Linked DNA regions of Homo sapiens: all the other regions are linked to region 3. The links are contacts of gene promoters, found by promoter capture Hi-C in blood cells and fetal thymus (Javierre and others, 2016). All regions are on one chromosome and are shown on one strand. Each heading gives the region's core, a stretch centred on a gene start or on the middle of the fragment in contact. The rest is flanking DNA. Distances are from core to core; before and after follow the strand shown.

Region 1 (3,821 bases), core at 486-2,985, 3.5 Mb after region 3:
AGAATCATATCTCATAAAAGGTTGTTCAAACTGCTCAGCCCCAGAAGACAGATTCTGTTATCTTGCTTCCCACACAGTTTCCACTTCTAGCGATTCATCACGCTCCCCACACCCGCTCAGACAGTAATCAAGACAGCAATCAGAGGCTGGGACTTACCAGAAGCGGCTGCGATTGGGAAACGAGTGAATTACGTCAGGCCAGTATGCCCTCATTTCTGGCAAAAGATCCTATGCATTAAAAAATAAAATAAGTCTACGCAGGTTCTTAATAATAAACTCAAAACCTAGAAGGTAAATTTGATAAACTGACACCAAAGAATTGAGCTCTGCTAATTAACAATACTTTGGTGAATAAAATAATCCTATGCTTATTTTGTATGAAGTGTTTGTTAAGATATATCTACAAGTGCAATTTGAGTAATCATAAAACTGCACACGAAAATACAAGCTGTTATAGGTGAAGGGATAAAGTGTACATCCAAACAATGGAATATTTTCAGCAACAAAAACCAATGAGCCGTCGAGTCATGAAAAGACACTGGAGGAACTGCAAACATACATTGCTAAGTGCAAGAAGCCAGTCTGCAGAGGCTACATACTGTATGATTCCAACGACGTGACAATTTGGAAAAGGTAGTCTTAAGAGACAGGAATGAGATTCGCGGTTGCTTGGGGGTTCAAGGGGAGGAAGAAGGGGAGGTATGGCTCAGGGGGTTTAGGGCCAGCGGCTGCTCCAGAGCACACTGGGTGGGACTTGCTCTCCTGCATTTGTCCAAAGCCGCACAACACAGGAGTAAACCCTAATGTTAATGCTAAACTTTATTTAATAATAAAGTATCAGTATCAGTTCATTAATTGTAACAAATGTAACACACTATAGAAGATGTTAATGATTGGGAGAGTTGAGGGGGAAGGGAGTGAACTGTCTGTAATCTCCATCCAATTTTTCTGTAAACCTATAACTGTTCTAAAAACATTGGCCGGGCACGGTGGCTCACGCCTGTAATCCCAGCACTTTCGGAGGCCGATGCGGGCGGATCACGAGGTCAGGAGATCGAGACCATCCTGGCCAACCTGGTGAAACCCTGTCTCTACTAAAAATACAAAAATTAGCTGGGCACGGTGCCACATGCCTGTAATCCCAGCTACTCAGGAGGCTGAGGCAGGAGAATCGCTTGAACCAGGGAGTCGGAGGTTGCAGTGAGCCGAGATTGCGCCACTGCACTCCAGCCTGGCGACAGAGTGAGACTCCATCTTAAAAAAAAACAAAACGAAACCATCAGTTAAAACAAACAAACAAACAAAGGACAAGCTCTCCTTTTCCCAGAGAAGAGCTTGTGTGAGCTGGGCAGCCTGGGCACCAGTCGCGCTAAATCCAACAGAACTGGAGTTTACTTTTCTATTTCTACACACCCTCTACACCAAAAAAACCCCAAAAAGGTCAGTAAAAAGGTGCTTAACAAACTTCGGATAACTTCACTTTCCTTCCCTTTCTCCTGTTTTCCAGCACCCTATATGAGGGTCCTTTTCTCAGCCCATTTGTAACTCAGCCCCTACCCCACAGCCCCTGCCTGTGTGGGCGCAGCTCTGTCCCCCTCCTCTTCCCCTCCAGCCCCCCACCCCACCTCTCCTGCCCCACCATGCTGGCTTCAGCCCCATCAGCTCTCCGAGATGTCCTAGGGCACGATATGATTGAGTGTGCAAATTGGGCTACTTCCGTTTGGGACAATGCAAAGGTGTTCCTACTGCTACACAACAAGGAAGCCAGGACTACTCTGAGGAGCAGCGGCTCACACCACCACAGACCCACGACCCACCCACGCCCCCACTCAAAAAGCATTTCAGCTTTCCTGTCCTGGACCCCCCGGGGATATGCAGTCCTACGGTGCCTCTTCTCAAATCTCTCCACTCCTGGGTTTCCGCCTTTCCCAGCTGCAGGCACACATGCCCCTTTCCACCTGGCTGTTAACACGGGGCTCCACCAGCACTGTCCCCTCTGCCCACCAGGCCCACACCTGTCAGCGCTGTCCCCTTAGCCCACCCACATCCGTCAGCCCTGCCCCCTCACCCACCCACGTCCACACCTGTCAGCCCTGCCCTCACCCACCCACGTCCACACCTGTCAGCCCTGCCCTCACCCACCCACGTCCACACCTGTCAGCCCTGCCCTCACCCACCCACGTCCACATCTGTCAGCCCTGCCCTCACCCACCCACGTCCACACCTGTCAGCCCTGCCCTCACCCATCCACGTCCACACCTGTCAGCCCTGCCCCCTCATCCACCCACGTCCACACCTGTCGGCCCTGACTCCTCACCCATCCATGTCCACAGACCCATGTCCATCCCCACACCTGTCATTTTGATTCACCATCCTCATGCTAACTATGCCTAAAGCCACCTTTCCTCTGACCCTGAAGATCCTCTATGTCACCCCCTGGAGGTCTCAAGGGCACTTCAAACTCAATGTATCCTGAAGTGGCCTCTTCATCACGCCTCCCCAGAAACCATTCCCTGCAGTGAGTCCCGGAGGAGAGGAGGAGAGTCTGTGTGAGGAGCTAGAGACAGCACCAGGCTCTGGGGTGTCCCTTCTAAGTCTCACGGCAGTCCCCAGCCTCTTGGCTCATCCCACTGAAGGTCTTCACGGGGAGGAAAAAGAAAACAATTCCATATGGATTAGAACTTGTGGGCTGGGCGCGGTGGCTCCCACCTGTAATCCCAGCACTTTGGGAGGCCGAGGCAGGTGGATCACCTGAGGTCAGGAGTTCGAGACCAGTCTGACCAACATGGGGAAACCCCATGTCTACTAAAAATACAAAATAAGCCGGGCATGGTGGCGCATGCCTGTAATCCCAGCTACTCAGGAGGCTGAGGCAGGAGAATTGCTTGAACCCGGGAGGTGGAGGTTGCAGTGAGCCAAGATTGCGCCACTGCACTCCAGCCTGGGCAACAAGAGCAAAACTCTGTCTCAAAAAAAAAAAAAAAAAGAAAAGAAAAGAAAAAAAGAACTTGTGATGGATTTGCAACTAATGACCTTGGGGAATGTACCATTCCTAGGAAAGACCCACAACTCCCGCAAGCCTTCAATGCTACCACACGTTTTAAAGAAGGCCTCAGTTACCACCCCCTCCCTGGGGTCCAGGTCCAGTTACCCTGGTATATACTGGTTACACACAGGAACTGTTGGCACCCCTAAGGAAAGATGAGGGCGTGTGTGTGAGTGAAGACTCCGTATGACATATAAGGTACGGGTATCTCAAAGGAACGCCTCTGCTAGTATCTCTAATAAATTCCCGCCCTGTGAGTTTTCTTTAATCAAGCTCTTGTACTGGAAAGGCCCAGCATGTCCACCTGCTCAGAAACCCATCCACCAGATAGGACGGCCCCAGGCCTGTGCTCTCTGAGCCTCAGCTGTCTGGAGATGCCTGGCGATATGGCACACCGACCAGATTCCCACGTCGGTCATCTGACCCAGAAGTCCTGGGGCCTGGGACGAGGCGGGGCTGGCGGGCGAGCGTCAGGATCTGCACAGGTCTGGCATGGGGGAGTGTCAGGGCTTGCTCCGGTCGGAGCCCCTCGCTCAGGCCCCTCATGCAGTGGCTTGGGCACAGGGCAGGGGAGGGGAGGAGAGGGAAAAGGTCAATTGGTGTAATTTGTGGGGTCGAGATAACAATACTTACTAAAACAGCAGCAAGGGCTCAATCCTGGTGAATACATTCATGACCCCTTAATTTTAAAGATGACTTTGAAGGTACGCTTGTGAAGAAAAGAGTTAATCTAGGTCAACACTCTGCAGTAGAAATATAATTAAAAGTCAATACC
Region 2 (3,543 bases), core at 717-3,216, 3.6 Mb before region 3:
AACCCCCGGAACCTGGAGCTTTTATCTGTAGCCAGGAAAGAGCGGGGCTGGCGGACGGTGTTTCCCTCCCGTGAGTTCTGGCACAGGTAATTAAATCTGCTTGTGATTGACAAGGGCAGTGCACCCTACAGACTATTTTCATTCATTCAACTCCAGGCACTCTCCCAGGTAGCTGCCATGCGGCGGGTAGAGGCAGGGTTCGCGGAGGGGCTGGAACAAACAACAAATAGGTGTGATGGGGGCTATTTAAAGAGGATGTTACAGTAGCGGACAGGATACCTGCCTGTCTGAGGTGACATTTAAGAAGGTGAGATCTGAAAGAGGAAGAAGCCTAGTCATCTGCCAGAAAGAGCAGTCCTAGCAAAGGAAACTGCTGGGGTGAGGAACTGAAGGGCTTGTGGATCTGAAGCTCAATGGGCAGAGGATGAATGGCCCAAGATGAACATGGAGGGGTAAGGAGGCGACAGATGATTAGCTTTGTAAGTCAAGATGAGCACTTTAGACTTTCTTTTCATTATAGTGGGAAACTACGAGAGGATTTAAAGCTTGAGCCCGAATTGGTTTTTCAAGATCATTCTGGCTGGGCGCATTGTCTCATGCCTGTAATCCCAGCACTTTAGGGAGCCAGCCGAAGAAGCCGGATCATCTGAGGTCAGGAGTTTGAGACCAACCTGGCCAACATGGTGAAACCCCGTCTCTACTAAAAATATAAAAATTAGAGGGGCGTGGTGGTGCACGCCTGTAATCCCAGCTACTCCAGTGGCTGAGGCACGAGAATCACTTGAACCCAGGAGGCGGAGGTTGCAGTGAGCTGAGCGCCTGGGCGACAGAGCAAAATTCTGTCTCAAAAAAAAAAAAATCATTTTAGCTGCTTTTTGGAAGATTAAATTTTTGAGGGAGCAGGACTTGAAGAAAGACCAGTTAGGAGTCTAGTATGACTTGAGATACTTTGTTATAAAGGTGGTTGTTTAATGAACACTTACATTTGCCAGGAATTATGCTACTTGCTTTATATGTTTTTTCTCATTTAATCCTTAAAATTACATCATGAAGCAGTTATAATTTCCCCCATTTTACAGGATCAAAGAAATTGAGGTTTAGGGAGACATGATTAGTAAGTGCCAGAGCTAAGATTTACATATGTTTTAACTGACCTCAGAGCCAGGACGCTAGGTTATTACCACTATACTACAGCATGTAAGTGTTTATCAGGTTTATCTGCTGCTTATCTGCTTGGTGAGGATTTTTTAGAATTTCTTAAGGACTTCTTAAGTACTATGTAAAGTTGTAAGAGTAAATTGGAAATCATTACTGTGTGATGTATTATTTATTTATTGAACAAGCATCATACCTGTATCACTTGCTAGGCATTGCGTTAGAGGCAGGAGTTACAAAGATAAAGTAGATGTTATCCCTGTCATCAAAAGTCTTAAGTTTCATAGTGGAAAGTGGAATGGGGATAATGATGTGTTACAGTTGCTGTAATACATTTTTACTCATAGAGGAGGGAGTCCAAGAAAGGGAGTAGGCAGTTCACTTTTTAAATAATCTGGATCTTAAGGCTAAAAATCTTTTGAAACACCCAACCTATTACTTTCTTTTTTCTTTGTTTTTGAGACAGGGTCTGGGTCTGTTGCCCAGGCTAGAATGCAGTGGTATGATATCTGCTTACTGCATCCTTGACTTCCCTGGGCTCCAGCAATCTTCCCACCTCAGCCTCCTGAGTGGCTGGGACTAGAGGCGCATGCCATTACTCCCAGCTAATTTGTTTTGTTTTGTTTGAGACAAGCTCTGGCTCTATCACCCAGGCTGGAGTGCAGTGGTACAGTATCAGCTGGCTGCAACCTCTGCCTCCCAGGCTCAAACGATTCTCCCATCTCAGCTTCCTGAGCATCTGGGACTGCAGGCACACACTACCATGGCCGGCTAATTTTTTTCTTTTTCTTTTTTTTTTTTTCTGGTATTTTTTGTAGAGATGGGGTTTTGCTGCTGCCCAGGCTGGTCTCGAGCTCTTGAGCTCGAGAGATCTGCCTGATTCAGCCTCCCAAGGTGCTGGGATTACAGACGTGAGCCACTGCACTCGGCCCCAACGCATTACTTTGATTTAATATTTGGATCATTAAAAATAACTAAAGATGTATTTCCTCATTTTTTCTCTGTCTGCCTTACTCGCAATATTAAAAGTAGAGAATTTCAGAATATTATAGTAGGAAATGACCTTTGACATAATGAATCGGGCCCTTCATTGAACAAATGGTTCAAGTGTCAGCAAACTACGGCCCGTGGGCCAAAGGTAGATTGTGAGCTAAAAACTTGTTTTTACTTTTTTTAAGTTAAAAAAAAAATCAAAAGAATATTTTGTGGCTTGGGAAAATTAAATGAAAATCAAATTTCGTTGCCCAGGTTCTTAGAACCTAGCTGTACCTACTCTCATTTGTTTACGCATCACCTGGCTGTTCTAGCACTACAATGGCTGAGTCGAACAGTTTCAACAGAAGCTATTGGACCTAGAAAGCCTAAAATATTTACTATCTGGCACTTTGTGGAAAAAGATTGTTGACTCCTGGTTTAACAGATTGTGATTTTTGGCCGGGCGCGGTGGCTCACGTTTGTAATCCCAGCACTTTGGGAGGTCGAGGCGGGCGGATCACGAGGTCAGGAGATCAAGACCATCCTGGCTAACACGGTGAAACCCCGTCTCTACTAAAAATACACAAAAAAATTAGCCAGGCGTGGTGGCAGGCACCTGTAGTCCCAGCTACTAGGGAGGCTGAGACAGGAGAGTGGCGTGAACCTGGGAGGCGGAGCTTGCAGTGAGCCGAGATCGCGCCACTGCACTCCAGCCTGGGCAACAGACTGAGACTCCGTCTCAAAAAAAAAAAAAGAGATTGTGATTTTTTACTAGAGCCACCAGGAAAACCAGGAGTAGACTCCATATTTCCAAATCTAATGCCTCTTCTATTTCACATTGAGAATCCTAGTGAGAATCTAATGATTTGGGTGTGTTTTCTTTAACTTAAACTTGACTTTTTAAAGGGTAACATATACGTATGTTATAAAATCCAAAGGGAGTACAGTTTCTTGTGTGTCCTTCTAAAGATTGTCTATGCATATAAGCAAAAACTGTTAAAAACAATAAATCTTAGCATACGATAAACACTTCCGCATCTTTCTTCACCACCACCCTCAACCACCCCAAGCACGCACTTAAAAATACATCTTGGAGATTCTTCATGGTAGTTAAGAGCATTGACTCTGGAGCCAGACACTGGGACTTAAACCATGGCTCCATTACTTACTAGTTTTAATCTTTTTCAAGTTACTTAACCTTTCTGTGTTAGTTTCTGCAGCTAAAAAAAAATATAGAAAAAATAATAGAATTGAGACATAAGCTTTATCTATAAACCGTTAAGACAGGCCTGGCATATACTAAGTGCTCAGTAAATGTTAACTATTATCTTCATCATTATAAAGCATTATTTCATTCATTTCAGTAACTGTATGGAATACTATTGCATGGATTTTACTTAACTCGCTCCTAGA
Region 3 (3,514 bases), core at 181-2,680:
AGTGCCTAGGAGCTTAATAAATAAGCAGGCCATTAAGAAGGGGATTGCATCTTTTACACTAGCAGCATCAAAACCTTGATTTTGATTTTTCTAGGTACTGAAACAGCCTTCATTACTTAGAGACCATAGCTTTTTTGCAAGTTACTATTCCCTGCATTTAGAAAGTTCATCTTTAAACAGGCAATTCAGTAAGTAAATATTCTATGGCTCTAAAACAGATACGGCTGTTGGAGACTTTAAAACATCTGACAGTTACATTTTTAATGTTGTCTACCAAGGCTATTACATTTCCTCTGTCAAAGTAACTTAATTTTAAAAACGAACTCTGTGCTTGTTAAACGAAAAGGCCAGAAGGCTACTGGCTACTCAGCGTTCATTTGAAATTCTTATAGTGCCTTCAGTACAATTCAAACTTAGAGGTGATTCTCACAATTCATGTGAAGCAACATTTTACAAAAAAAATCACCTACGTTCACTGTTAAGTCAGAAGACAGAATGATTAACAAAATCTCAGCCGCGAATTACTCTCACGATGGCCAACTGGATATTAAATAACTCTGCATTATTTTAATGGAATGTTATAAAGGATTTGCAACAAAATGCAGACGTAGATTTAGGGACTGCCGACTTCTATAGATCAAGGACTTCATTGGTGCAGCTGAGGAAATTCTTCCAAACAAGTCTAAATGTTGGAAATCCACCAAACTGCAGAGAAAGACCTCTTGCCTCCGTATTCTTTCTTCATCTGTAAAAATGTTGACTTCTGCTTTTCAGACTACGCGCACAGCCTCTTTATTTCCTACTGCGGCTTCATTCCCTCACGGAACACTGACGCCATCGCGAAGGAAGCATTTCGAGCACGACTGACGCTCCCCTTATTATTTGCTAAGCCGCTGCGCTCGGGTCTGGCTACGATTTGCTTTCAGAATAACGGGAAGGTGCAACAAGATCGCTTCCCTAGAGGCGCGTCGCCCGCGTGGCCCGGACCCCCCACGCCCGCCCGCCGCCCCGTGGGTGCGCACGCGTGTCCGCGCAGGCTTCCCGCCTGGCGAGTGCAAGGCTCCTCTCCGCCGTGCTGCTTTCCAGCCTCTCAGCAAATCACGAACACCGAAAGAAGCCACGGCGGCGACGGGAGGGGCGTCGCGCGTGCTTCCCTCGGCGACAAAGCGGGAGCCGGGCGCGCCGGCCGAGGGCGCCCGGCGCAGAGTCCCGCAGAGGCGGACGCCGCGGCACGCGCCTCGAAAAGCCTCAAACTCTTATCCTCGGCTCTCCCGCCCCACCTCCGCCCCGCAGCCAAGACCCGCGCCGTGGCGGGCCCGACGGCCAAGGAAAGCCCACCAGCCCTCCGCACCGTGGGCGACGGGCCAAGACCCGGCCCTAAACGGCCAGACCCAGCCCCTAGTCGGCTGCCGCCCCCGCCCCACGCAGGCGCGCTCCGGGGCCCTCCCCTCCCCCACCGCGCGCTCGCGGGGCCCGACGGGGGCGGAGCGACCCTCGGAAGGGGCGTGGCGACCGGGCTCGACGCGCGCACGCGCTCTGGAGCCCCACGGCTACGTGTCGGGCCACGTGATGCCCACCCCGAAAGTCCCCCGTGAAGCAACAGGACGTTAAAAAAAAATTTCTCTTCTGCGGGGTGGATAAGAGGTTCTGAAAAAACTATAGTAACGGGAGGCGAGGCGGAGGCAGCGCTGGCGCGTCCCGCTGGAATTCCTCTCGCCTGCCGCGCCAGCCCCGACCGCGCCCGCAGCCCCACCCGCCCCGTGCCGTGGAAAGCCCCGCGCCCCCCCCGCGGCCGTCGGCCCCGCAGCCCACACCCACCCGCCCCGGGCGCCCCGCACGGCGGCGACCCAGTCCTTGCGCCCAGGCCCGCCGAGCGCCGCAGTCCGTCACACTCCCGTTGCCCCCGTCGCCCGCCCCGCCGGGGAGGCAGGGAGGAGGGGGCGCGGCGCCGGCGGCTGCCCCGGTCGCGGGGCGGCGGGCAGCAGGCAGCGGGAGCGCGCCGGCCGGGACCCGCTAACGGCCGCCCTGCGCGGCCCCGCCCGCCGCCCGCCCCCGGCCCTCCCCGCGCCGCTGCCCCTCCCCCCGCCGCCGCCGCTGCTGCCGCCGCCGCTGGCAGCGCCGCCTGAACTGAGGCGAACTCCGCCGCCAAGTGAGTGAGGAGGAGGAGGAGGAGAAGGAGGAGGAGGAAGAGGAGGAGCGCAGTCGGAGCGCGGCGGCAGCGGCAGAGGCGCCGCGGCGGGGACCAGCCCAGAGAGACCCCCCGAGCCCGCGGCACAGGCGGCGGCGGCGCTGAGCGGGCTCGACCAGCCGAGCGAGCGGCGGCCCCGGCTCCTCCTCGTCCGGCGCCAGCAGCCCGCGCCCCGCGCCCGCACTCGGCCAGCCGAGACCCGCCTCCCGCCCGCCCGCCGGCCTCGTGAGGGACGCGCCGAGCCGGGCGGCCGAGAGCGGCGGCGGCTGGGAGCGCGTCGGGCCCGGGCGGAAAGTGCCTGCGGGGGGCGGGCGAGCGCGCGGTGCCGGCCGCCCCGGGGCTCGGCGCGGGAGCCAGAGCGGGAGCCGGCGCGGAGCGGGACGCCGGGTCCCGAGCGGCCCGCGGCCGGGGCTCGCCCCCGCCCCTCCCTCCTCTCCGGCGGCGGCGGCGGCGGCGGCGGGCGGAGTGAGCTGCGGAGCCTGGAATATGGTCGGGGAAATGGAAACGAAGGAGAAGCCGAAGCCCACCCCAGATTACCTGATGCAGCTGATGAACGACAAGAAGCTCATGAGCAGCCTGCCCAACTTCTGCGGGATCTTCAACCACCTCGAGCGGCTGCTGGACGAAGGTGAGCGTCTCCAGGGCCCCGGCCCCGGCCCGACCCCCGCCGGGGCGGCCCCTTTCCCCGCTTGGGATGGTGGGGAGGGCGGGAAGGTCACGGCCGGGCGGGACCGAGCGCCGGGGGGACTGGGAGGCCAGGAGGGCGCACAAAGGAGGTGCCGGGCCGGGCTTGCGGCGGGCGGGCGGGCCGGGGTGGACCCGCCGGTGCCGGACGCCCCCTGCCCGGCCGGGACCCCGCGCCGCTGGCGTCCAAGTTGGCGCGTTGCGGAGGGCTGCGGGGTGAGCCCTGCGGCCCCTCTAGCTTCGGCGGTCACATTTCCGAGAGGTCGGCGGGGGCTGCGCGGACTCGGTGGTCCTCGCCGAGCCCTCCCGAGAGCAGGCCCACGCCGCGCCGCCGGCCTGGAGGACGCGTGTGCCCGGCGCGGGCCCCGCTCCTCCGCTCGGCCTCCCGAGCCTGCTCTGCGCGGACCCCCACCGCCCCGCGTTCGGGAGCTCTCCCCTCCCGTGAGGACTAAAGCGGGGTTTCGTGGTTGGGGAGTTGGTGCAGCTGTTCAATACTAAGTGGAAGTCAGTGTGGGGCTCGTTAGTTTAAAGAAATTCCGTAGGAGACCGAAATTATGCTGGCGTAGCCGACAAGGAGGACTAAGTGACGGCGAAAAGCACTTTTTTCCCTTTTGTTTGGGGAAGCGAGAACTGTTAGGGAGT
Region 4 (3,830 bases), core at 60-2,559, 3.7 Mb before region 3:
AAGGGGATGTGAGAGTAAGCCCACAAAGACTCAGAAGTGGCCAGGGAGTAAGGGGAAAATGGGATAGAATAGAGCAAAAGCCACGGGAGGCATTCCTTGAATTCCTTGGACTCAGATATGTTAGGGGACAGGAAACACATTGAAGACAACTGAAGAGACTTCAGTGTGCTGCTGAGTTCTTAGCAGAGTAGACAGCTGATTTCACCACTATTCCAGACCCTAAAGATTTCTCCTGAAATTGCACTGTTATGCAATTTTTTTCCTTCTCTATTGCCCCACCTCTGGGGCCTACACTCTTTACCTTCTCTGATTTATCTGACCCATCCGCATATCTCTGCAAAGTCTTAATGTAGGTTTCCAGGATTTAATGATTCTTTCAATCAACTTTAAAGTTCTTCAGGAAGATTCTCCAGGTCCGTCAACAGTTTTCCCCTTCATGACTTTGTGACAAAGCTTTCTTGTTCCACTATCCAGGTGTTCCCAACAAGTTGCTGTAACGGTGGCCCCTCATAAGCTTGCCTGGAAACCCTAGAAAGCTCAGAAAAATTATGAACTTTGCCCAGTAAGAGGCTGGGAAGTCAGAAAGGGTTTTAAACAAAACTGACCCCACTTGTTACATGCTCCTTTCACTGTCCAAACGTCAACCAAAGGAACTTTTGTGACGCTAAGACGCTCCCGGCGTCCTCACCCGTTCACAGCCAGAGTTGATCTTAGAAGGCAGGGGGCTCGCACCGAGACGCTCCTAGCAAGCCCCTCACGCGAGCGAATGACTGGCGCCAGGAGAAACGCATAGGACCTCCCGAAGCCGCCGAGAGCAAAAGGACCCATCAGAGCTGTGCTGAGACCCGCCGCGGGCCGGGCTCGCACTCGAGATTCTCGCCCGTGGGATTCCAGTCCTGAGCTGAACGAGAGATAAGTCTTTGTCACCCCCCAGTCTTTACTGTTTCGAGAAACCCTAAGATTTTTTAAAAAAAAGCCCAAGACGTCAAGTCGGGGAACTCCAACATTGGGGTGTCCAGAAACACTGGGGTTTCAGGCGCTCTGTAAATGCGTCCGAGGTCCGCGGTTCTGCCCGCAAGCCCAGACCCCGGCCTCACTTCCGCCCCGCGCCCCGCGCCCCGGCCTCACTTCCGCCCCGCGCCCCGCGCCCCGCGCCCCGCGCGCCTCCGCCCGCCCCTGCTCCGGCCTTGCGCCTGCGCACAGTGGGATGCGCGGGGAGGTGGTGCGCGGGGAGGTGGAGGGCGAGGGGCGGGGCTACCTCAGGTCCCGCCCGCGGCAGGCCTGTGGGCTGCGAGGAGGAGCTTTGCCTAGCTTGCAGGCAGCGCAGGGCAGACGGCGGCAGGAGAAGCAAGATGAATGCAGGCTCAGATCCTGTGGTCATCGTCTCGGCGGCGCGGACCATCATAGGTGAGTGGCCGGCGGGAGCCGCGCAGAGTCCGAGGCGCCTGCTGCTTCGGCAGGAGCGCCGAGGGCCGGACTTGTGTAGGAGAGGGGCGTATGTGGAGGAAGCCGGTCAGGCCAAGCCGCGAGGAGCCGCGGGATCCCTGGAACCCTGCGGCTCCCGCGTTCCCTGACCTGGTGCTACAGCCCCACCCTCTCCTCTCCCGATGTGCGCACTCCGTCCCTCGTGCTTGGATTGGCTCCCGGGGTAGAGCCATCGCGTGGCCTGCCTCTCCCATTGGTTGGCGTAGGGAGGTGTTCTCCTCCGGGGCCCCTGATTGGCCGGCTCCGGGAGGCGCCATCGGTAATGCCTGCGGCAGGGGCGGAACTGCTAGGTGGTCTGAGCCCGGCTTTGGGCTGGGGTCGGGCTGTCACACAATGGCTAGAAGTCGTGACTTCGTCTCCTTCGTGCCGCATGGTTTTCAACGCCCTTGACCCGCCGGTTCCTTTTGTTTGGGAAGCATGGGGTCGCATCCAGTCCTTCGGATTTGGGGAAATAGAAGGGCTACAGCGGCGTCCCTAGGCCGTTCTGGAGGTCGCCTGTCCAGCCCTCGGCTGCTGCGAGTTGTGGCACCCACCTTGACCTTTGCTCAGACCAGCAGGTGTAGGAACGTGTGGGAGGAGAGGGCACTGCCTCCTCGCGTGGCCTTGCCAAACAGGGTCATGAGGCTCCCCTGCTCGTAGGTGGTTCCCGTATTACCCGCAGGCTTGTGATGTCCACGCTCTCCGCCTTTCTATTGTAGGTTCCTTCAATGGTGCCTTAGCTGCTGTTCCTGTCCAGGACCTGGGCTCCACTGTCATCAAAGAAGTCTTGAAGAGGGCCACTGTGGCTCCGGAAGATGTGTCTGAGGTCATCTTTGGACATGTCTTGGCAGCAGGTAAGTCTCAGTGATTCCAGGAGAAGTCAGGCTTATTAGAAACAGCCCATAAACACACACACACACACACACTCTCACACACTCACACACTCTCTCACTCACTCAAGTTCTTGCCTCCTTGCTTTTGCTCAGAGTTCCCTCTGTTATGATTCCTCCTGTTGGCCCCCTTCTTCCAGCCCTGTCAGTAGCTTCTATCCAGCTTGAGACTCAGCTTCTTGGCCAGGCAGGGTGGCTCCCGCCTGTAATCCCAGCACTTTGGGAGGCGGAGGAGGAAGGATCACTTGAGTCCAGAAGTTTGAGACTAGCCTGGGCAACAAAGCAAGACCCCGTCTCTACAAAAAATAAAATAGCCAGGTATGATGGCCTGTGCCTCCCAGCTACTGGAGAGGCTGAGGTGGGAGGATCACTTGAGCCCAGGAGTTTGAGACTGCAGTGATTGTGTCACTGCACTCCGTCATGGGTGACAGAGTGAGACCCCTTCTCTAAACAAACAAAAAGACTTAGCTTCATTAATATGCTTTTTGTGAATGAACTTAGACCACTGACCTACACCACCTACACTGCCTTTTCTTTTCCTTTTTTTTTTTTTTTTTTTTTTTTTTTTGAGACGGAGTCTCTCTCTGTGGCCCAGGCTGGAGTGCAGTGGCGTGATCTCGGCTCACTGCAAGCTCCGTCTCCCGGTTTCACGCCATTCTCCTGCCTCAGCCTCCCGAGTAGCTGGGACTACAGGCGGCCCACTGCCTTTTCATTCTTACGAAGCAGGGCCGGCCGGGCCCGGTGGCTCACGCCTGTAATCCCAGCACTCTGGGAGGCCGAGGTGGGCGGATCATGAGGTCAGGAGATCAAGACCATCCTGGCTGACACGGTGAAACCCCGTTTCTACTAAAAATACAAAAAATTAGCCGGGTGTGGTGGCGGGCGCCTGTATTCCCAGCTACTTGGGAGGCTGAGACAGGAGAATGGCGTGAACCCGGGAGGCGGAGCTTGCAGTGAGCTGAGATTGTGCCACTGCACTCCATTCAGCCTGGGCAACAGAGTGAGACTCCTTTTAAAAAGAAGAAGAAGAAGCAGCAGCAGGGCCAGCCTGACGCATAGGAAAGTATGCCTGCTCCTCCTTACTACCTCAAAGTGTCACTCATTCAACAAAAATGTATTCAGTTCCTCCTATGTGCCCCATACTGTGCTTAGTGCTGGGAGTATGGTTCCAACAATACAGGTAAGTTCCCTGCCCTCTTAGGGCTCAGTTCTGAGCTTGGAAAATAGGTGCCACATCATGCCCCTTGCAAATGGGGCATATCACTCCCCAGAGGAATATAGCTGAGTCCTGAGAGTGCCCCCATCTTCTGATTCTTTGGGTTTGAACACTCGTAATTAATTAATTAATTATTATTATTATTATTTAAAGAGACAGGGTCTCACTCTGTTGTCCAGGCTGGAATGCAGTGGTGTAATCAATCGTAGCCCACTATAACCTCAAACTCCTGGGCTCCACGGTATCCTCCCACCTCAGCC
Region 5 (3,694 bases), core at 47-2,546, 3.7 Mb before region 3:
TCAGTCCTTTTAATGCCCTTTAAAAACAGATTATCATCTCATTTTTTGCTAAGCTTACTGTTAATTTTATTTTAGTGGAATAAGAATATGGATACCTGTCTTTAAGAAGAGAGTAAGCAAGTAAACCTAGGGAAAGTATCAGGTTGTAGAACCACATACCGATGATCCTTGCCAAAATCCTGGCATAGGAATTTGAACCCTGGTGTATGAAAAGTCTGCCCTTTGCATACTCAGGTTTCGCATCCCGTGAATGCTGTATTTTTGATCCGAGTACTGTATTTTTTAATCTGAGTTTGATTGAAAAAAATCCAAATATAAATGGACCCATGCAGCTAAAACCTGGGTTGGTCAAGGACCAACTATAATAACTTTTATAAGCTGGAATTTATATTGAACAGCATCCATGATACTTTAGTATTACAACTAAAGTTGTACATACTGAGTAGGTAGGATGCCTTAGTAACTAGATAAAAGGTATACCACCTAGCCATAGTGATAAATATAGCTGTTTTCAAACTGTCATTCACAGATCTCTACCACAGTACCTGTTACGTGAAGTTCCTGGTTGGTTCTCAAAATTTTATGTTCGTATATACATAGATACAGATACTGATATACCGGTTAAATATGTACAGCTCAAATAGCTAAAATTGTCTTTAAGATTTTTTAAATTAAAAATATTATTGGCCGGGCGCAGTAGCTTACACCTGTAATCCCAACACTTTGGGAGGCCAAAGCAGGTGGATTACCTGAGGTGAGGAGTTCGAGACCAGCCTGGTCAACATGGTGAAACTAAAAATACAAAAATTAGCCGGGCGTGGTGGCAGGCACCTGTAATCTCAGCTACTCTGGAGGCTGAGGCAGGAGAATCGCTTGAATCCAGGCGGTGGAGGTTGCAGTGAGCCGAGATCGCGCCATTGCACTCCAGCCTGGGCAACAGAGACCGGGCGCAGGGGGAGGGGGAGTGTCTCTGTCTGCTTCTTTCTCTCTCTCTCTCTCTCTCTCTGTATATATATATAGTGTGTGTGTGTGTGTGTGTGTGTGTGTGTGTAAAATTGATATTTAGCTCCAGACAAATGGGAAATTACAAGGAAATGCCAGATTTGATATCTGGGTTCTAAGACTTTGCAGCCTAATGCATGTGTCATGCTAAAATAGAAGTAGTTAGACATGTGGAGTTAAATATGGTGATGGTTTCTGAGATGATTAAAATGACTGCCACCAGGTTAAGGTAGTTACAAAGCAGCTTTCTGTAATGGCAGCAGAGATAATAAACTGGGCAACAAGGGAGGAACCAATTTAAAGAAAAAAAGAATAATATACATTTTATATCATAGTAATATGGTTTATGTCTTCATAGGACAGAGTGACTTGCTCAGTGAAACAGACTGTATACAATTAGCTCAGAAACAAATACTGAGGTTTTTATCTGTTTGCTGTATCCCTTGAGAAAGATTAAAGAGGGAAGGCAGGGTGCAGTGGCTCACGCCTGTAATGCCAGCACTTTGGGAGGCCAAGGCAGTTGGATTGCTTGCGCCCAGGAGTTCGAGACCAGCCTGGGCAGCATGGCGAAACCCTGTCTCTACCAAAAAAAATTACAAAAAATTAACTGGGTGTGGTGGCACATGCCTGTAGTCCCAGGTACTCGGGAGGCTGAGGTGGGAGGATCACTTGAGCCTGGGAGGTCAAGATTGCAGTGAGCCATCATCGCACCACTGCACTGTGGTCTAGGTGACAGAGCGAGACTGTCTCAAAAAAAAAAAAAAGCCCAGCACGCTGGCTCATGCCTGTAGTCCCAGCACTTGGGAGGCTGAGGTGGGCAGATCACCTGAGGTCGGGATTTCCAGACCACCCTGACCAACATGGAGAAACCCCGTCTCTACTAAAAATACAAGGAAGTTAGCCGGGCGTGGTGGCGCATGCCTGTAATCCCAGCTACTTGGGAGGCTGAGGCAGGAGAATTGCTTGAACCCAGGAGGCGGAGGTTGCGGTGAGCCGAGATCGCGCCGTTGCACTCCACCCCGGGCAACAAGAGCGAAACTCCATCTCCAAAAAAAAAGATTAAACAGAGAAAGAAGCAAGCCAGTAATCTAAGATCAATTTATGATTTTTCCTCTAAATTCTGCTTTCTTCAACACAATTTACTTAATCTGAAAACCAGGGTTTAATAACAGTATGATTAGAATGTTTCATTTATAAAGTGGAGTTGAGATTGTACGTAGTATAAAACATGCTGTTGGAAGATTATCTCCTTTTGAGGAATCTCAAAATCAAGTGGGAGAAATCAAGTAGTCTTGGTGTGTGTGTGTTTTGTTTGTTTGTTTTAATGAGAGACAGGGTCTTACCACATTGCCCGGGCTCGGTTCAAACTCCTAGGCTCAAGCAGCTCTCCTGCCTCAGCCTCCCAAAGTGCTGGGATTACAAGTGTGAGCCACCACACCAGCCTCAAGTAGCTTTCGAGATGATGCCACAGCACTCCAGCCTGGCAACAGAGTGAGACTCCATCTCAAAAAAAAAAAAAAAAATTCAGTTTAACATACCAAGCTTTTGGTCAAATTTCTAGTAGTTTAGAATTTATAATAAGTATGGGTAATTAAAATAAACCATAAACACTTTAAAGTAAGGGAAGATTCATGAGTATACTATTAGAAATAATAACTAGGGCTGGGCGTGATCCTTCCACAGGTAGTTCTAGCTACTTGGGAGGCTGAGATGAGAGTATGACTTGAGCCCAAGAGTTCAAGACTAGCCTGGGCACTATGGTGGGTCCCCATCTCTTAAGAAAGAAAGAATAGGAAAAACTAAATTAGTATAAGAACTAATTACTTAATTTGTATAAGTTATGAATATGCCAAATGCAATTTAGATGCTTTTTCAAAAGAGCACTGGTACTCAGAACCCTGATTCAATTTTTTAATCCTCATAGAATTTTTATATAAAGATTTTATGTTTGTCAGGTTAGCTCTTCATGTCGTATACTTTTTTTTCCAACCTTGTATTTTAATGTGGTGTTTATGTTTATTACACATTTTTTCTTTGTCTTTTTTTTGTGTGTGGATTTGTAGTTTAATGAATAATACCTGCTATTAGCATTCGTTCTAAAAAACAGCATAATAAAGTGTTCCCTACTTGAATTCATTAACCTATCTTTGAAACAGGGTTAAGTGAATTTTGTATAATAAAGAAGCTAATTTTGAGATACAAAATATTTGGCATAAAATTAAATACTGTAGGAATATTTTTATTAAGGTGTGACATACATGTGTATGTGAGTTTTTGTTGTTTGTTTGTTTGAGATGGAGTCTCTGTTGCCCAGGCTGGAATGCAGTGGCGCGCCATCTCGGCTCACTGCAACCTCCGCCTCCCAGGTTCAGGCGATTCCTGCCTCAGTCTCCCTAGTAGCTGGGATTACAGGCGTGTGCCACTACGCCGGGCTAATTTTTTTAATTTTTTGGTAGAGACCGAGTTTCACCATGTTGGCCAGACTTGTCTTGAACTTCTGACCTCAAGTGATCCACCCACCAGCCTCCCAAAATGCTGAGATTACAGTCGTGAGCCATCACGCCCAACCAGTGTAACATATATTTTAAAATATGTAATAGGATGGGCGTGGTGGTTCATTCCTGTAATCCCAGCACTTTGGGAGGCCAAGGCGGACGGGTTGCAATGTCAGGAGTTCGAGACCAGCCTGACC
Region 6 (4,059 bases), core at 1,001-3,500, 3.5 Mb before region 3:
CACACAACTTGAGTTAGATAATGGTTTGTTTAAAAGGACACCGTACATTTCCCTGTCTTCTCACTTACACGAGGCGGTCTTGGCTCCCCAGCTGGAGAACTTAAGTAATGAATGTCTGTAATTAATCTGGGGACTTTTCTTGTAAACACCAACCTAAAAGTGATATTTTTGGTGGTATTGTTCACATCACTGCCACCACCATCATTTCCACATGTGCTTCTCATAACTGAGCTCCACACAGTCTCCAAATGGTAATTCACCAAAACTTTCTCTTTCCTCTTGGCTCCTGTAAATCCCCTTGGTTCTCTTTCTATGTCTCTGCTCCTTTTCTAGAGAATTTTCTCTTAATCATAACTGTGGTGCTCTTCAAGTGTGGCAAGTTGTGCTTTCCAAAGATAGCCACACCTGGATATTTATTCTGTTTCACATGTTCTTCTTATGATGTGAGTAGCCCTCCCCCATTGAGAGCTAGAGTCTAGGTTTCCTCTTTTTGAAGCTGGGTAGGGCTTGGTGACTGTCCTGATCACAATGGCAAAATTGGTGTCCTGTGATCCAAGAATGAGTCATAAGAAGGATGTAGCTTCCACCTCGCTTACTCTTCCTTCTCTCTCCTTTTGCTTGACTTGGAACCCAGCTACCACAGCTGAAGAAACTCCGGCCACATGTGGAGGCTATATGCAGGCATTCCAGCTAAGGTCTCAGCTGACAGCCAGCACCAACCATCAAATGTGCAAGTGAAAATCTTTCAGATGATACCAGTTTCCATCCTTCAAGTCTTAAAGCTGAGGGCCCAGAAGTCTTAAAACAGAAATGAGCCATTCCGACTGGACCCTGTCTAAATTCCTGACCCCATTAATTCTCACTAGTGAGAATTAATAAATGATGGTTGTTGTGTTACACCACTGGATTTGAGGGTAATTTATTACACACTGATAGACAGTTAATACTAAGAGCCTATTTTCTCTTTTGTTCTCTCCCTGGCAATTTCTTTCACTATGCCAATGTCTTGTTATCCTTCTCATCACCTTCCTCCCAAGTCAACTCTCCCATCTTTGCAAGTGCCTCCCCATAATTACATTCAATGCAGGCTTCCTGCCTGTGTTCAGTGTTGCATTACCAGTTGTCTAGTGGTCACCTCTGAATACCTAGACTTGCTATTGCACAAAAAGATACTTAGCGTCTTGCTCCTCAGATTCATTTCTCTTCTGTTTTCTCTGTTCTCTGGAACCAATCTACCTGTCTACAAGCGTTGATCATCATTGACTCTTTCTTTCCTGTCTGTCCTACCCAACAGGTTGCTAAGTGCTGCATTGGGTCAGTTGGTATGATTTTGGCTGCAAGAAATACAAAAGTTAGCTAATCATGGTGTGGCATTTTGGGGCCAATCAGGAGGTAGAAACAGGGGAGTCTTAATATAAATAATTACTAACTATGATGAAGGAGTAACTGTAAGATGTAAGAAAACTCTACATAGTCCCTCAGGCTGACGGAGAGGACTCAAGGAATGACAAGCCTTCAGATCTGAAGGCATTCAGATTTCATGGGAAAAGGTTTGTTTCCATTTATTGGATAGCAGACTGGCCAGGCTGGAGCTGGCCTGCACTAGTATGCAAGTTGGGGAGCAGGTGGTCAGCACCTCATGGTATGGATGTCCTGGGAACAGCAGGAGAATCTCTTCTGCAGTTTGCCTCCAGTGTCCTCTGCTCAGAAAGCTTAATGTCATTTAGTTGAAAGGAGAACTGCTTAAATGGATTCCTTTATCACAGAGCATATACTAGAAGATGCATTCAAAGCAGAGAGGCAATACATTAATAACACATGCACTTGGCTTAGGCATATTTATTTATTCTATCACAAAACAAAAGATCGGATACAAGAGTTTTGGTGAAGTGGACCAGTGTCATTCAGGATCCTGATGTCTTCCGTCTTGTTCCCACTGTGTTGGCCACATTTTCCCTCACAGTTATGAGGGGACAGCAGTTTCATATAGAAATTACTGCATCCAGACAACAAAAAAACACAAAAGGGGAAGGGATTTCTGTTTTGCAACTCTTTTTATTGGAGAGAAAGCATTTTGCAGAAGATCTCAGGAGACTTCCCATCGAGTTCCATCATCAGGACTGGGTCATACGCCCTTGCTCTGGCTGTAAGAATGTCTGGGAAGTGAGAATCTCACACCCACAGCCTCTGGTGGAGGTGGGCTTTGCCAGCAATCAAGGGCATGAGATGCCTGCAGGAAGGCAGCCAACCACACCTGCCTCATGCCTCTAACCCTATTCCCCTCTAAATTCCCATGCCAAAGCCTTAGGGCATTATCTTTGATAGTTACCTGGCCAGGTGTTAACTAACTGGGAACTGGGTGTTTTTGAAGGACACAAGGCTTTCTGCTGTCGAATTTGTCACCTTAATTGTGATACTTTTAATAAATTAGCTTCCAGTCTATCTTAAAACCAGATGGATTTTCCTGATGTGTCACCGTGAACATCTCTCTTTCTCCAAATCTCTCAATGAGGAGGCAGTTGATGAGTTAACTGCATGGGCTTTGGTCCCAGATCATACAGCTCACATCCAAGCGCTGTCACTTACCAACTGCATGACCTTGGGCAAGGTATATAATTTCTTTATGACTGAATTGCTCATCTTTTCAAGGAGGGTAATAAAATTACCTATTTGGTGGGATTGGTATTAACAGTAAATGATATAATACAGGAATGGTATTGACAGTGAGCCTTCAGTATGTATTATTGTATCTGCTGTTATTGTTCCCTACTTCATATCCAGCCAAATCTAAGCTTATTAGATGACCATTTAAGATCCTCTAGGAGCTGGGCACAATAAAAATTTTCAAACTTATATAAAAATTGACTACGTCCTAAACTGCGAGCTCCTTGAGGGAGGGATTATATTTTATGAGCCCAGGATCTAGCACAGTTTTTGGCCAAAAGTAGTTTTTCTTTATTCCCATGTGACTTTTGCTTAAGCAAAAGGCCTTGTACAGCAAATACAGCTTCTGTATTTTACCATGGCCTTGCACTTGCTGTTCTTTGTGCCTACAATGTCCTTTCCCTAAATTTCCCCCATTCTTCCAGATTCACTCAAAAGCAATCTCTTTCATGATGAGATCTCTTTCCCAATTCTCATTTTGAAAAATGTCAAACCTATAGAAAAGTTGAAAGAATAGTACAAGAGCACTGATATATTCTTCACTACATTTGTGACTGTTAATATTTTTAACCTCTGCTTGCTATTCATACATATATTCTTTTTTTCCCCTGAAATCATTTGAAAGTTGCCAACATCATGACACTTCACTTTCAGCATGTATCACATAAGAACAAGCACATCGTCCTATGTAATCACAGTAGCTTTATCTTATGAAATTTAACATTGATTCAATATTATTTACTGTACATTTTTTCTTGGCAGTTTATGATCTTAGAAATCAAGAAGCCTAAAATGAATCACTGTGTGTTTTGAGGGTCTTTTGGTAGAATCATGTTCCTTTCTGGGTGTTCTAAAAAGTTCCTGGATCTTTGGGGTGAGATTCTGTTTGAGTTTCAGAACAATGTGTGCATGCCATCAGTTTGATAGCTCATGGTTTGTGTTCCAAAGGGGCAGCTATTAGTGTTACCTGTCCCTGCTATTGCTCTTGACATCATGCAGGGACATCCTCAGTAGCTGCTCTTTCTGCCCTTGGTCTGTCATTTGAGCTTGTGTTTCCAAAGTCAGATGCAGGAAGATTGGGTCCTCACAACAGGGCGGTGGTTGGAGCACCTGGATGCCAAGCCTGGATCTGTCCTATCATTTGAGGGACATTTGTGTTCTTGGCTATTTGTGTTCTTAGGCTGCCATAACAAAGTACCTCTGGGTGGCTTAAAATGACAGAAATTGTCTCACACAGTTCTGGAGGCCGGAAGTCCAAAACCAAGGCATTGGCAGGGTCACGCTCCCTCTGAAGGCTCTAGGGGAGAATCTGTTCCATGCCTTTGTCCCAGCTTCTGGTGTTGCTGGCAATCCTTGGTGTTCCTTGGCTTGTAGATGCATAGCACCTCCATTCTC
Region 7 (3,604 bases), core at 266-2,765, 3.7 Mb before region 3:
AGACACAAGAATTGCATGAACCTGAAAGGCGGAGGTTGCAATGAGCCGACATTGCACCACTGCGCTCCAGCCTGGGCGACTGTAAGACTCCGTCTCAAAAAAAAAAAGTTCATAAAATGAAGTCTCTCAGTCTTTCCCTAATATGAAGTACCATCCAGAAACCAGAAGGTGGAGTTGATGTGATATTCTATGTTGGCGTGAACATAAAATCTTATGACATAACCCCATGAAAGCATTCTCCATTCCTACTTGTGTCCTTTTGAAAGTTACAACTTTTATCATACTCGTTGTTATGAAAAATATGCCACTATGATACCTCTGGTAAGAATAAGGTAACTTAGGCCAGGCACGGTGGCTCATGCCTGTAATCCCAGCACTTTGGGAGGCCAAGGTGGGCAGATCATGAGGTCAGGAGTTCAAGACCAGCCTGGCCAACATGGTGAATGAAACCTCATCTCTACTAAAAATGCAAAAATTAGCCAGGCGTGGTGGCGGGCGCCTGTAATCCCAGCTACTTGGGAGGCTGAGGCAGGAGAATCACTTGAACCCAGGAAGCGGAGGTTGCAGTGAGCCAAGACTGCGCCACTGTACTCCAGCCTGGGCAACAAGAGCAAAACTCTTGTCTCAAAAAAACAACAACAAAAAAAACAAAAAACAAGTATAAGGTAACTTCAGTAAATCAACAATCGATTCCTACTGTGCACAAAATGTAGATAAGGGTGCACCAATATATACCAACCTTTGGGTTCTCCACCACCGTTAGGGCTGAGGTTTGTCCAGAAAATGCTATGATTGATATGACCACCACCATTGAACTTCAGTGCAGGCTGAAGAGCTATCTGGGCTGTAACATCTCCTGAAAAGTTAAAATGCAAACACATTTTTTTGTAACTCCTACTTTTTCAACCACTGTATACATTATATTTTTTTCTTTGTAAGCTATTAGATAATGGGACCAGCTTATCTATAACATCCGTTTGTCCTAAAATTCAGCACCCCCCCGCCCCAAAATTATTTGTCCCAGACATGCTGAACAACTGATGAAGGACCTAGCAGAGGTGGAAAAGCTAGAAAATTCACTCCTGGCTGCTAGGCTCAGGGATCTCTTAGATAGAAGAGATTTTAGGAAATGAAACACCAAAGAGGACAATCAAAATAATAGAATGCTAAAATGTATGGCTCAACATACAGACTGTACAGAAAACCTTCAACTCTCACTTTCAAGACAGACGACGATTCATTGGGAAATATCTCCAAGTCACATTAACAAGAAACTCAACATACTCAAAATTGAACTCCTGATGTTCTACCCCAAACTTACTCCTCCTATTGTCCTCCACGTCTCAGTAAATGCCAGCTCTGTCCCTCAGGACATCCTTGGGAACCTGATGTCATTTTTGACTCCTCTCCCTTCACCCCACATCCAATCCACCAGCATATCCATTAGCAAAGCCAGCTCTACCTTTAAAATACATCCAATCTATATAAAAGCACACAGAGAAAAATAAAAGAAAAAAATAAAACACAAGCAGAACCTAATCCCTTCTCCCTAACTCTACTGCCACCTCATTGGGACAGAGGACCAGTATTTCTCACTGCACTGGTGCCACTATCCCCTCAGTTTTGGGGGGTGGGGGTGGGCCTTGCCCCCTCCAAAGGCTCCCCTTCTCACTGGAGCGAACCCTAGGTGTTTACACTCAGCTACTCTTACTACCAAGAGGCGCTGCACTTGACCCCGTCATTGAGCACGTGCTCACGCAGCTGCAGCCTCACTGGCCTTTTTGCACTCACATGACCAACTTGGATGTTCCCCTCAAGGCTAGCTGAGCACTGCTGCCTCTGCTGAACACTCTTCCCCAAGACAGTCTCATGCTGCGTTCCTGTTCCTCCTTCAAGTCTCCACTGAAACATCAACCCCATCAGTGAAGCCTTCTCTAGCCACCATACATGAATTAGCAACTCCCTGCCACCCCTCCCAGACCCTTTACTCCTTCTCAATAGGCCCTGTAACTCCTGGCATACTGCATGGGTACCTTGCCAAATAAGTAGGCAAAATAAAATAGTCTTTTCTATGCCTTCAAGAAGCTACAGACTAAATGAACTATTAATATTAGAAAAAAATGGAAATCCTCTTGTTTAATAAATATTTTGTGCATATTATCCACAAGATACCAAGAGAAGCAAAGTAAAGGACACAGAGACCCACTGAGAGCTTTGCTCTCAAGGAGCTTACATTTTGGAAAAAGTTCTCAACTGCTGTTCTGAAAGTGTACGTTAAGAACATATGTCTGGGCCGGGTGCGGTGGCTCACGCCTGTAATCTCAGCACTTTGGGAAGCCGAGGCGGGCAGCTCTCTTCAGGTCAGGATTTCAAGACCGGCCTGGCCAACATGGTGAAACCCTGTCTTCACTAAAAATACAGAAATTAGCCAGGTATGGTGGCGCGTGCCTATAATCCCAGCTACTCAGGAGCATGAGGCAGGAGAATGGCTTGAACCCAGGAGGCAGAGGTTGCAGTGAACCAAGAACACGCCACTGCACTCCAGCCTGGGCGACAGGGCAATACTCCGTCACAGAAAAAAAAAAAGAAAGAGAAAGAAAAAAACATACATACAAGGCCAGGTGAGGTGGCTCACGCCTGTAATCCCAGCACTTTGGGAGGCTGAGATGGGCGGATCACTTGAGGTCAGGAGTTCCAGACCAGCCTGGACGACATGGAAAAACCCTGTCTCTACTAAAAAACCCACAAAAAGTAGCCAGGCGTGGTGGCGTACGCCTGTAATCCCAGCTACTCAGGAGGCTGAGGCAGGAGAATTGCTTGAACCCAGGAGACGGAGGTTGTAGTGAGCCGAGATCACATCACTGCACTCCAACCTGCGGGACAGACTGAGATTCCGTCAAAAAAAAAAAAAAAAAAAAAAGTATGTCTGACTAGGCACGGTGGCTCACACCTGTAATCCCAGCACTCTGGAAGGCCGAGGTGCGTGGATAGGGGAGCCCAGGAATTCAAGAGCAGCCTGGGCAACATAGTGTGACCCCGTCTGTTTTTTTTAGACAGAATTAAAAAAAAAATTTTTAAAAGGAACATACGTAGACAATGCTGCTTTCTGAAACAAGCTCCAGTTGTTTAGCGATTCAGAAAGGAGAGAACCAACTGATATCTGAATACACAGCTAATCTCAAAGGGTTTTTTAAAGACACCAACTTTTTTTTTCCTTTGTTAGGTTTACAAACAGTTTTTTATAGATCTGTGTTTCCCTTATTAAATTTTCTTGAGAGTCACTCTAAAAATAGATGTAACTTTTCTATTGTTTTTTAATAAATCAATAGTAACTGAATTTTTAAAATGGGAAAGATACATGCTTAATGAGAGATAATTTAATAATCTTAACATCTTACAGTTTGCTTACTCATTTTAAAATTAATAAAAATTGAGGGCTTAATATCTGCTTTTAAGAACACTTTTCTGAAATTCAACATTTTATTTGGTTTCAGTTTAGTTTTTGCCTCAAATAATAATAAAAGTCAAATGCTTTTTGTTGAAAAATATTCATATTAGTCAGTTAAATGTGATGAGATTATGACATTGTTTTATCTTTTTTCCC

What was found. The method cuts DNA at HindIII sites, captures the fragments that hold promoters and counts their contacts. A CHiCAGO score of 5 or more calls a contact.
Region 1: a contact is called between a fragment that was not itself captured here and the fragment with the promoter of CAHM in region 3, in 1 of 17 cell types (neutrophils). The highest score is 7.2, in neutrophils.
Region 2: a contact is called between a fragment that was not itself captured here and the fragment with the promoter of CAHM in region 3, in 1 of 17 cell types (fetal thymus). The highest score is 5.7, in fetal thymus.
Region 4: a contact is called between the fragment with the promoter of ACAT2 here and the fragment with the promoter of CAHM in region 3, in 2 of 17 cell types (fetal thymus and naive CD8 T cells). The highest score is 8.3, in fetal thymus.
Region 5: a fragment that was not itself captured here is called in contact with the fragment with the promoter of CAHM in region 3 in 1 of 17 cell types (fetal thymus); the score reaches 8.0 in fetal thymus.
Region 6: a contact is called between a fragment that was not itself captured here and the fragment with the promoter of CAHM in region 3, in 1 of 17 cell types (total CD4 T cells). The highest score is 5.2, in total CD4 T cells.
Region 7: a contact is called between a fragment that was not itself captured here and the fragment with the promoter of CAHM in region 3, in 2 of 17 cell types (fetal thymus and non-activated CD4 T cells). The highest score is 8.0, in fetal thymus.

The regions. Positions count from the first base shown.
Region 1 is chr6:166,942,862-166,946,682 of GRCh38, forward strand. RNASET2 (ribonuclease T2) reads right to left here. Exons shown (of 9, transcript NM_003730.6): 4 at 3,821; 5 at 158-228. It also overlaps the pseudogene LOC105378119. Among named protein-coding and RNA genes, the nearest start is that of RNASET2, 12 kb to the right of the region's middle. The HindIII fragment of the contact is 5,816 bases long and covers 1-3,821 here.
Region 2 is chr6:159,791,041-159,794,583 of GRCh38, forward strand. MRPL18 (mitochondrial ribosomal protein L18) reads left to right here. Exons shown (of 4, transcript NM_014161.5): 2 at 1-86. Among named protein-coding and RNA genes, the nearest start is that of MRPL18, 2.3 kb to the left of the region's middle. The HindIII fragment of the contact is 2,847 bases long and covers 544-3,390 here.
Region 3 is chr6:163,412,520-163,416,033 of GRCh38, forward strand. It overlaps CAHM (colon adenocarcinoma hypermethylated), which reads right to left and starts at 1,431. Exons shown (of 1, transcript NR_037593.1): 1 at 546-1,431. QKI (QKI, KH domain containing RNA binding) reads left to right here and starts at 2,199. Exons shown (of 8, transcript NM_006775.3): 1 at 2,199-2,816. The coding sequence starts at 2,675. LOC124901234 (basic proline-rich protein-like) reads left to right here. Exons shown (of 4, transcript XM_047419614.1): 2 at 95-1,566; 3 at 1,730-2,149; 4 at 2,446-2,657. The coding sequence starts at 687. The coding sequence ends at 2,657. RefSeq lists silencers at 838-1,617, 1,708-2,527, 2,778-2,827, 3,028-3,217 and enhancers at 1,451-2,103, 2,104-2,757. The HindIII fragment of the contact is 4,236 bases long and covers 1-3,514 here.
Region 4 is chr6:159,760,736-159,764,565 of GRCh38, forward strand. ACAT2 (acetyl-CoA acetyltransferase 2) reads left to right here and starts at 1,310. Exons shown (of 9, transcript NM_005891.3): 1 at 1,310-1,407; 2 at 2,184-2,318. The coding sequence starts at 1,353. It overlaps SOD2-OT1 (SOD2 overlapping transcript 1), which reads right to left and starts at 1,597. Exons shown (of 2, transcript NR_037166.1): 1 at 1,259-1,597; 2 at 1-901. It also overlaps a transcript of SOD2 not described here. RefSeq lists enhancers at 563-622, 2,691-3,191 and silencers at 1,053-1,112, 1,133-1,282. The HindIII fragment of the contact is 5,525 bases long and covers 513-3,830 here.
Region 5 is chr6:159,731,868-159,735,561 of GRCh38, forward strand. The region is part of intron 1 of WTAP (WT1 associated protein); the gene reads left to right. It also overlaps a transcript of SOD2 not described here. Among named protein-coding and RNA genes, the nearest start is that of WTAP, 6.2 kb to the left of the region's middle. RefSeq lists a silencer at 1,821-2,081. The HindIII fragment of the contact is 2,491 bases long and covers 52-2,542 here.
Region 6 is chr6:159,961,197-159,965,255 of GRCh38, forward strand. No RefSeq gene overlaps it. Among named protein-coding and RNA genes, the nearest start is that of IGF2R, 5.9 kb to the right of the region's middle. The HindIII fragment of the contact is 1,080 bases long and covers 1,711-2,790 here.
Region 7 is chr6:159,687,387-159,690,990 of GRCh38, forward strand. It overlaps SOD2 (superoxide dismutase 2), which reads right to left. Exons shown (of 5, transcript NM_000636.4): 3 at 740-856. Among named protein-coding and RNA genes, the nearest start is that of SOD2, 4.1 kb to the right of the region's middle. RefSeq lists a silencer at 1-181. The HindIII fragment of the contact is 4,400 bases long and covers 1-3,604 here.